3 separate regions of the Homo sapiens genome follow, and regions 2 and 3 are each linked to region 1. Evidence: promoter capture Hi-C in 16 types of primary human blood cells and fetal thymus (Javierre and others, 2016). All regions are on one chromosome and are shown on one strand. Each heading gives the region's core, a stretch centred on a gene start or on the middle of the fragment in contact. The rest is flanking DNA. Distances are from core to core; before and after follow the strand shown. Region 1 holds the start of VPS26C (VPS26 endosomal protein sorting factor C). Region 2 overlaps DYRK1A (dual specificity tyrosine phosphorylation regulated kinase 1A). Region 3 overlaps DYRK1A (dual specificity tyrosine phosphorylation regulated kinase 1A).

What was found. The method cuts DNA at HindIII sites, captures the fragments that hold promoters and counts their contacts. A CHiCAGO score of 5 or more calls a contact.
Region 2: a contact is called between a fragment that was not itself captured here and the fragment with the promoter of VPS26C in region 1, in 8 of 17 cell types (naive CD8 T cells, naive CD4 T cells, naive B cells and 5 more). The highest score is 8.5, in naive CD8 T cells.
Region 3: a contact is called between a fragment that was not itself captured here and the fragment with the promoter of VPS26C in region 1, in 10 of 17 cell types (naive CD4 T cells, naive CD8 T cells, total CD8 T cells and 7 more). The highest score is 9.4, in naive CD4 T cells.

Annotation. Positions count from the first base shown.
Region 1 is chr21:37,265,825-37,268,901 of GRCh38, forward strand. It overlaps VPS26C (VPS26 endosomal protein sorting factor C), which reads right to left and starts at 1,510. Exons shown (of 8, transcript NM_006052.2): 1 at 1,414-1,510. The coding sequence starts at 1,470. RefSeq lists silencers at 1,106-1,415, 2,156-2,315 and an enhancer at 1,556-1,615. The HindIII fragment of the contact is 6,761 bases long and covers 1-3,077 here.
Region 2 is chr21:37,412,358-37,415,434 of GRCh38, forward strand. All of the region lies in intron 1 of DYRK1A (dual specificity tyrosine phosphorylation regulated kinase 1A), which reads left to right. Among named protein-coding and RNA genes, the nearest start is that of DYRK1A, 47 kb to the left of the region's middle. The HindIII fragment of the contact is 8,167 bases long and covers 1-3,077 here.
Region 3 is chr21:37,394,215-37,397,291 of GRCh38, forward strand. All of the region lies in intron 1 of DYRK1A (dual specificity tyrosine phosphorylation regulated kinase 1A), which reads left to right. Among named protein-coding and RNA genes, the nearest start is that of DYRK1A, 29 kb to the left of the region's middle. The HindIII fragment of the contact is 7,776 bases long and covers 1-3,077 here.

The DNA.
Region 1 (3,077 bases), core at 260-2,759:
TGTGATGGTGAAGTGGTGTTCATTGTTGTGCTTGGCTAGAGGAGTGTGACTACCAGATTTCTCCATTATAAAGGTAGCTTTTTCTCTTTTTTTTTTTTTTTTTTTTTTTTTGAGACGGGGTCTCACTCTGTTGCCCAGGCTGGAGTGCAGTGGCACAATCTCGTCTCACTGCAGCCTCCGCCTCCCGGGTTCCAGCGATTTTTCTGCCTCAGCCTCCCTGGTAGCTTGGATTAGAGGCGTCCGCCACCACGCCCGGTTAATTTTTGTATTTTTAGTAGAGACCAGGTTTCACCATGTTGGCCAGGCTGGTCTCGAACTCCTGACCTCAGGTGATCCGCCCGCCTCGGCCTCCCAAAGTGCTGGTAATACAAGCGTGAGCCACCGCGCGGGCCAGATTTTTCCCTTTGTAATTAACCATCAAGGGGATGACCATTTGAGCTTGTGTAAATAAGAGCAGGCTTCCCTAGTTGTCTTTTGCCCAAAAGTTTTAGCATCCATCCAAGACCTTTGTCTGAAATTCTGTCCCTTTTGAGATTACTTTGCATTAATATGACCAACCACTGCGATCAATTTTATTCCAAAGAGTGTTGGGGCTGTGATTTCAACCCTAGCTGCACATATATCACCGGTATCGCTGGGAGTGGAACCCAAGCAATCATATTTTAAAATTCTCCAGGATGACTGATTCTGATGTAGAGTAAGGGTTGAGATTCCCCGAGTTAGAGGAACCTTACAACACCCTCATTTGCAAATAAGGACACTGAGGCCCAAGGAGGTTAAATGACTGGCCAATGTCACAAAACCTGTTAATGGCATAGTCAAGATTTTACTTTTTTATACTTGCATTTTAATAGCCATTCCTTTGTGTCAGTCGAAGAATAAAACCAGAAAAAGCAGTAACTTTCGTAGTATGTTAGTATGTTGTTAAAAGTGACTACCATCTAATATATGCTGCCGCCAGACATACCCATTTCTGCTTCCAAGGTTTGTTTTAGCTTTCGTTCATTAGACCTTTGCGGTCACCTTAGGAGAGAGGGAAAGGGGAGTTTGGTCGTCAACTCCTCCGCCCTCAGCGCTCACTGAGGGAGCTCAAGCCTGAGAACCCAACACCGCCGGGTGTTCAAGGGGCCAGATGGGAAGAGCGCAGCCCCGGAGCTGGGCGCCTGCCCTGCACGTCCCGCAGATGCGGCGGCGGCGCCTGCCCTGGGGCCTCCTCGCAGGGCAGCCAGCCTCGCGCGGGAAGCACCTGGCGGGGACGCACCTGGCGGGAACGCACCCACCTTGGCGGAGACGCACCTGGCGGGACAGCCCTGCCCCGCCTAGGGACGCGGGACGTGCGCAGAGCGATGGAGACAGCGGAACCTGCAGACCCGCCCAACCCCACCTCCATCCCCACCCCCAGCCCCCACTTACCCCGGCGTGATAAACTTTATTCGCTCTTTTAATCTTGATGTCCAGGGCGGTCCCCATCTCCAATTCTCCGCAGCAGCCGCCACTTCCGGCTGCGCGTGACCCCAGGGAAACAAGGGGCGCCTCCCCGCTTCGTTCTGGGCCCCGCCCCTTTCCCTCTCTGCCGGCAGTGGCTCACGTGACCTCGCAGCGGCGTCGCACACACTCCCTAGCTCCGAGGGGCGAATGCCCACGCCTTCCTCCTTCCGGCACAAGAGCCGGCCTTAGTGCGGGCCGAAGCGCTGTCACGGTTCACCCCGCCCCCTCTGGGCGTGAAAGACGGGGCCAAGCTAGCCCCACCCCTTCCGTAGGGACAGTCTTACGCCGGAAATGCTCCTTTGCTGTCCGGGTTAGCGGAGGGAGGGAGGAACGGCTCTCCCCGCGTGCCCCGCGGCTGGAGGCGGAGCCGAGCCTGTCTGTCGGTTGCAGCCTGCGCAGGAAGGATGACGCTCCCGTCAGGCTGTGCGGCGCAGACGGTCGCCCAATGGAGTTGTCTTTCAGGAGGTTTTAACTTGGTAATGCCTGCCCTCCTCAAATGTCCTTAGTCTCCTCAACTCTAGCCCTCCACCGCTTTCTCCCTGGGGTTCTGAAGAGCCGGCGCCCCCTTGTCTGTCTGCGGCCAGGCGCCGCACCCTGCCCTTCCCGCGGGAGCGGTTCCGGTCACCCTCAGGGGTGCGGCCCCTGCGTGCTAGTCCTGCAAAGCGCTGATTGGCCGGCGGCTCGGTTGCCTCGCGTCCCAGCGCCAGCTGGGCCTAGGGCCAAGGTCTCGGGAAGCGCCGGGTGACCTCGCTCCTCTCGGAGCCGCGGGCGCTGGGTCACCCGCCAGCCGGGCTCCGCGGGCCGCGAGGGATTGTGGGTGTTCCCCAGGCGCGTGTCCTGGAACCGGGTGTTAAATATTCAGATCCGTGCGCCCCGCGTGAAGGGTGGAAAGGCACGGCCCCCAGGCTCTGGGGCTTGGAGATTGGTTGCAAATGAAAGACTGAAAGCTGGAGTGAATCTGCCTATTATTTTTATTCCCAGCAACAGCTGACCCCAGATACAGTTTGTGGGGGTGGGGGGCGTTACTGCAGGGCAGGGCAGTGCACTGTTAACGTACTTCGTTTATTGAGTTAAAATCTCTTGTAAATGTTATAAATGAGGATTTTGCCAATAAGCAGAAGGTCAAATTTCATTTTGACAAATGATTTAATTAAATAATGCGGTGAAAAGTGCTTTTTGTTTAAATTCTTTGCTTTTTGTTTAAATTCTTTGATTCTGATCATTATTTTTTAAAGTGCATTGCTTTTGGGATAACATCAGAAACTATCTGTAAAAAGAATTAGTATCACGAATGCCTCCCTCTTAAGAATATAAAATGTTTTACAGGCCAGCAGTGATGGTGCTGCAGCTACAATTGCATTTGAAGGTTAATAAATGGTATTTTCAAATATTCAGGTCTTGGTTTGCAGCTCCTCTCTGCCCTCAGGGCTTTGGTCTCTGTCTTCAATGTTTTCCTGGCAATTCAAAACTCAGCGATTTTAGAACAATTCATTAGGGACTTGAAAATCACAGTCTAGTCTATTTGAATTCAAGAAGTGGATCCCTTTCCGCTAGACTCACCCATCATTTTCAAGTGGTAAAAAATCAAT
Region 2 (3,077 bases), core at 333-2,832, 150 kb after region 1:
AATAAATTAGGGCAGCGGATACAGCTTTTTAAGCACAGTAGTTCCCAAACTTCGCTGGGTCCAGGATTCATCTGTAACATCTTGTTAAAACAAAACACATATTCTTAGGTCCTTGTCCAGGCTTCCTGAATCAGGATTTTTGGGAGTAGAGTCTGATGTAGTTTAGGGAACCTGCCCTAGAGTTTATGACATAACCATCAGGCCTAGGAGATAGTTAATTCTAGGAAGCATTTGTAATACTTAAGGTGAATTAAGGACTTGGTTCAGGTGACTAAAGTGAGCATGGAGAGGAATGGAAAGGCATGAGGCACTTCGAAAATGGATAGGATTTAGTAAGACCATTTAGATAAAGTCAGCAGCTTCTAATGAAATTACTGAAAGAATGGTGGTGCGGGAATAGAGATGGGAAGTTCAAGTGGATAACATGTGGTGCAGGAATGTGATGAGGAGTTGTAGGCATAGAGAATGGAGGCAGGGATGTGGCACTGTAGGCAGCCACCCAACAGCTTGTTAGACTAGATATTGAGTGAAAAGTTTGAGTGGAGAAGAGAGTTTGAAGTATTAGTTTGGAGTAAACCATTGAAAATACTTCTTTTGCAGGGAAAGATGTATAGAGAAATGAGTGAAGCGGTCAGGGGATAGAACCAGAGGTCACATCTGAGGTTAGGGCTAAATGTGAAAGAGACATGGATTATTTGGAGGATAGCTAGTGTTGTGAAATACAAGAACATACATTTTAAGAATTTTTAAGGGGGTAGCATTTCTCTGTAAACTCCACAGAAGTGTGGGAGGGGAAGTAAGTAAAACTGAACTCACTTTACTGCTTTTAGTAATAGACTCATTGGAAGAAAATGTAAGCTATTCATGCAGTGTGTGTTTTTGATTATTTCTGGGCCTTGTTATTTTTCTGTGTTTCTGAGATGCAAGGATTATTTAAAGGCAATGGTTTATAAAATGATATATAATTACATACGTATAAAAGTACATATAACCAACTAAGTATATGTATGCATGCACTCATGCAAATCAATTATATATTTACATTTTATATATAAATTATATATGTGTGTATATATTGTATTATAGAACATCCTGTGTGGAAAAGTTGGTGCTGTCAGAAGGGAGAGAGAGCAAGGCAGTTTTCCAGTGCATTTCTTATAAGCTAGTTATGAGAAGGGCTTGCAGGTTACTGATTGAACATATTCTTTCTAAATGTCTTCTGTCTGATAGATACTCCTTTGTTAGGGAATATATACATAAATGAGATTACCCTAGATGTTCAGGTTAGTGAGGGAAACGTTACAATAGATAGCACTAAGCGCTGGATCTCAGCTTTGATTCCCAGAGCACCTAGAGCGTCATTGGGCCACCTCTTCTAAGTTCCTCTTAAGATCTAGAATTGATTTGAATAATAGAAATTTTGAGTACATTTTGTGTAGGTGACATAAAAGAACATCCTTAAGCAAGCATATCAGTTAAAGGACTTGTCTTCATGGCTCTTGGTGTTTTCTTCATACCACTTTGCTCTTAGTTCCTGTTAGCAGAGGGGAAGAAGCAGGCTCTAAGATTTAAAATTCATGCTAGTGAAAATTAGAAACAAGCCACATACCCTCAATAGGTGTTTGCTTAAAATGCATTTACGTCTTTGCAGTGGAGTACTGTGCACCTGGTAAAATGATGATGCAAATATAAATTGTTGATATAAAGATATATATGTATATATACATATATTTAAGGAGCAGAGATTCCAACACCAAATTTTGGGTGGTGGAATTTTATTAGGTTGGTGCAAAGGTAATACAGTTTTTGCCCTTGGGAGATTGGGCTGATGGTGACACCCGTTACCCAAGACTGAGAATACAGAAAGGAGAAGTGGATTTTTTCTCTGTTTTTCCTCCCTTTTTGAGTAGGGGAAATGGTAGATTCAGTTTAATATGGCCAAAAGCAGTGGCTTAGTAGTCAGTTTGCTTGGATTTGAATATCTCTCTACCATTAGTCGTGTGTGATTTGGGATGGTTTCACTTCACCTCTCTGTGCCTTAGTTTTCTCACCTGGACAATGGGAATGATAGTGGTACTTACTTTTTGTAATTATGGGGTTTAGTGGTTTAAAGTAGAAAATTTATACCAGGGCCCATTAAAGATAAGTCATCTCATGCAGTGAAACATAACTGGGACTTTCGAGCTCAGTTCACTGAGGTCTTCTGGGCCTGGAACAAGCCCGCCTTATAAAAGTTGGCTTTACATACTACATACTAAAGGAGTTCTTAATGTAGACTTTTAACCAACTGTCTTAGAAATGAGCCTTTGGAACCTAGGTCTGCATGTGATAGGGGTGCTTTCTAGTGTCTACTTGATAGACCAGTCACTTTCTAGTAGTGGGAGTTAGGTTCCCGAAAAGCTCTGTGGTTTGAGAATTCATTTTTGAGAATATCTATTCACAAGAGAATAGATAAACAGTTGATAGACTTGAAGGTCATACAAACCTGTGCAAATCATTGTAAATGTTTTCACATTCTAAAGGAAGACAGAGGACAGCAAGCAAAATAGAATATCAGTGGTAGTTTACATATTTTGAGTTAGTAACAGAGTACCTGTACTACTACTTTACAATTACTGATGATAACTTACCCCCAGAAACTTCTGTTTCTCCCCTTCAGTTTTAGAAATGATGTGTCAGTGCATTATGTATTGTTGCAGGTAATGTGCATATGAGGCATTTCCCTCCTGTTTTCCTCTATTTGTTGGTACGTCCAAATACTCAGTGCCTGATTTTGTCTTTCAGGCCCAGATGTGCTCTCAGAGATACTGAGTTGATGGTTGAGATAGCCAAAATTTGGGGCAAAACTCATTTAATCTGCTCAGCTTTTAGTTCTTAAACCTTCTCCCTAGTTCTTTTCACATAATTGCATGAGAAAGCACATGCTTCTAGCCTCTTTAACACAAATTTCAGCTATTCCACTTCCAAAATGCCATTGGAGTAGTATAATCCAGCACCCATGTTTATAATCCCACATGTTCTTTGACCTTGACCAAGGTTTTAATGCAAAATTGACTCATCTGCTATTGGTTTTTACC
Region 3 (3,077 bases), core at 379-2,878, 130 kb after region 1:
TTTTTTAAACCCTTTTTTTTTTTTCTAATTTTTTTAAATTTTATTATTATTATGCTTTAAGTTTTAGGGTACATGTGCACAACATGCAGGTTTGTTACCTGCAGTGGTGTATTTCTAACTTTTGCTATAACTCCATTCAAATAGCAGTATAAAATTAATATAATTTTTCAAATTCAGTTGAACTGTACTCATCTTGATACGGATCATAAATACAGATTTGGGAGTGAAGAAAGTAGAACAATGAATACTTTATGGCAGGGGTCTCCAGCCACTGGGCCGTGGACCGGTACTGGTCTGTGGCCTGTTAGGAATTGGACTGCACCCCATGAGGTGAGCTTTGGGCAAGCGATCATTTCTGCCTGAGCTCTGCCTCCTGTCAGATCAGTGGCGGCATTTGATTCTCATAGGAGCGCGAACCCTGTTGTGAACTGCACATGTGAGGGATCTAGGTTGCATGCTCCTTATGAGAATCTAACTGATGATCTGAAGTAGAAGAGTTTCATTCTGAAACCATTTCCCACCTCCTCCTGTCCGTGGAAAAATTGTCTTCCACAAAAGTAGTCCCTGGTGCCAAAAAGGTTATGGGATACTCAGCTCCACGTTGCACCTAAAGTAGCAAAAGACTAGATAAAAACCCTGAATATGTACTTGTGAAATCCTGAATATGTACTTCGTGAAATCAGTGACATAAACCTCCTCCTGGGTTACGTGTTACAGTTCACAAACGATCTCAAGTATTCTACAGTTCACCTGTGGTTGTCCTTTGTACAGGTGGAAGAAGAGAGGGATCTCAGATTCCCTGTAGTTGCGTCCCCGCCCCCAGACAGATCTCTCCCTTCTTCATGCCCTGGATTGTTTCATCCATTTAAATAGTTCTCTTCTTGATTCTGACTTGAGGGATGGGCATCCTGTGATTAGGTTTGGATGTGACAGTGGAAGTTTGTCAGAAACATTTTGGCTCATGGGCCAGATACATTGGAGTCCGTCCGAAAGCTCACTAGGAAATGTAGATTCTCAGGTTTAACCTAACTAGGCTAACTATACCTAAGTATCTTAGCAGAGGTTTGGATGTTACAGAGTTTGAAGATCGCATTTTTAGGCCCTGTATTCTTATTCTCTGTAAGGATGATGTCGCCCTTCAAGGGTGTAAGGATTGTTATTGGGGAGTATATATTCAGGGCAGCTTGAATCTGTGCTCCCGCTCCTCACCTCATTGTTCTTCGGAGGGGGATGGAAAATCTTAGATGTTAATCATGGTTTGTGGCCCTCCAGAAGTTAATCTTACCTGACAAAACCTTATTCCTTAATGTTTAATTTCCCTTGTTAAGAATACATTTAATTTATTGAATTAAATTTAAATTAAATTTCTCTCCTGGGGATGGGATACTCAAAAAAAGGTTGAGAAACATAATCCTATAAGAATTACTCTGGCATAGTACCTGCCCTGCATTATCTGTGTCCCCTCTCCCATCTTTGGAAACCTTAGGATGTGATTTTGGCTATATTATTTTAATACTAAGATTTTACTTACATTTAATGGATTAAAAAGAAAAACATTCTAGATGGGTGGAAACATTTACTCTGTGAAATTTTGCATCCAAGTCAATTGGTTTTTATCCTTGTGAATAAAGCCCTGTTAGGATAGACTCTGTTCTGGGATTTGGAAACCTTTTGTCTTCATAATGGCACTGTATACTGAAAACTCTTCATGTTTTCCACCTTGTTAACATATGACAAGCCAGGGCTTTTATATGCCACACAAAACATAGGAGATGTTCTCTCAGGGACATGTTCTTAAGTCATTGCTGTCTTTCCTCCTGGGAGTGATTCCTGGCCCCATGTATCTGTTTTCTGTGTAGTGCAGGGCCAGTAGGTGAAGTGGGTGGACCACAGGTCCCTGTGCCCTTGTCCTCTAGGAAGGAGAAGGGGTATAGGAGGCATATTGTTATCTGGGTTTATTGGTTTGTGGCTTTGGACTTGGTATAAATGAAAACGCCTCTTTTTTTTTTTAGGTTGGGGATGGAGGGCAGTAGTGGGAGAAGTAGAATAGGGTTTCTAATATATTACCCTCTTTAAAGAAAATTTTCAAAATGAGTTATTTTTCTGTCATTTAAGGTAATGTTAACTTCTTTGTATTTGTCCGTTTTCTGTGTAATTTGTCCAGGCTCAGGAGAGTTAAAGGCATAGTATAGCCAGAAAACTGAAGTCCTCTGGAAATCTCCATTCACCTGAAAATACATTGCTTGGCAATTGATAGATGCTGGGGTAAATTATTTTTTGAGTCAGTGAATTAAATTAATCCAAAGTTTTTTTGTTTTTTTTTTTAAGTGTAATTCCCTGTTCTATGATTTTAGAATCTAGTCCGTAGCGTAATATTGAGGGAAAAGTGAACTAGGAAGTTAAGAGACCTGGCATCAACTATTCTTACTACCTACCATGTTTTAAAATTTCCATAGGCTTAACTTTCATTGTTTATAAACTTGAAGAATTGGTAGACGACCCTTTGAGAGCCCTTCAGGGTGCAGAATTTTATCATCAAGTATGGTGAACACATTAGAATGTCCTCAACTGATGTAGTTGTGAGAAGGAATTAGTTCCATTTATCATGTAGAGAGTAGTGAATTAGGGTAAACAGTTGAGCCACTCTAACAGTTCCAGCAATTTGATGGCTCTAAGAGCATGGAATCATCTGGAGGTGAGTGCCTAGGTTGGTGGCGGTGACTGCCTCACGTGGTCATCTGGAGTCATGCATTTTTTTCCGTCTTGTTCCTCTGCTCTGCCCTAGGGTATAGTCCTCGTGTGTTGTCTCTGTACTAGCTCAGAAGATGCAGAGTAGGAGGTGCAGAGACAGAATAGAAATGCTCACTCAGTGTCCTAAGGCCCAGAAGTGGCACTTGTTTTCACATTCTTTCCATGCGAACTTAGCCACATGGCCATACCCAGCCACAAGGGAGCCTGGGAGGTATAACCTAGTTGGGCCGTCATGTGCTGGGCTACCATTACTATGGAAGATGATGACTGGAGTCTCTGCCACAACTAGTATATATGAAGCTATTTCTTAGTATATTTCTGGGGAC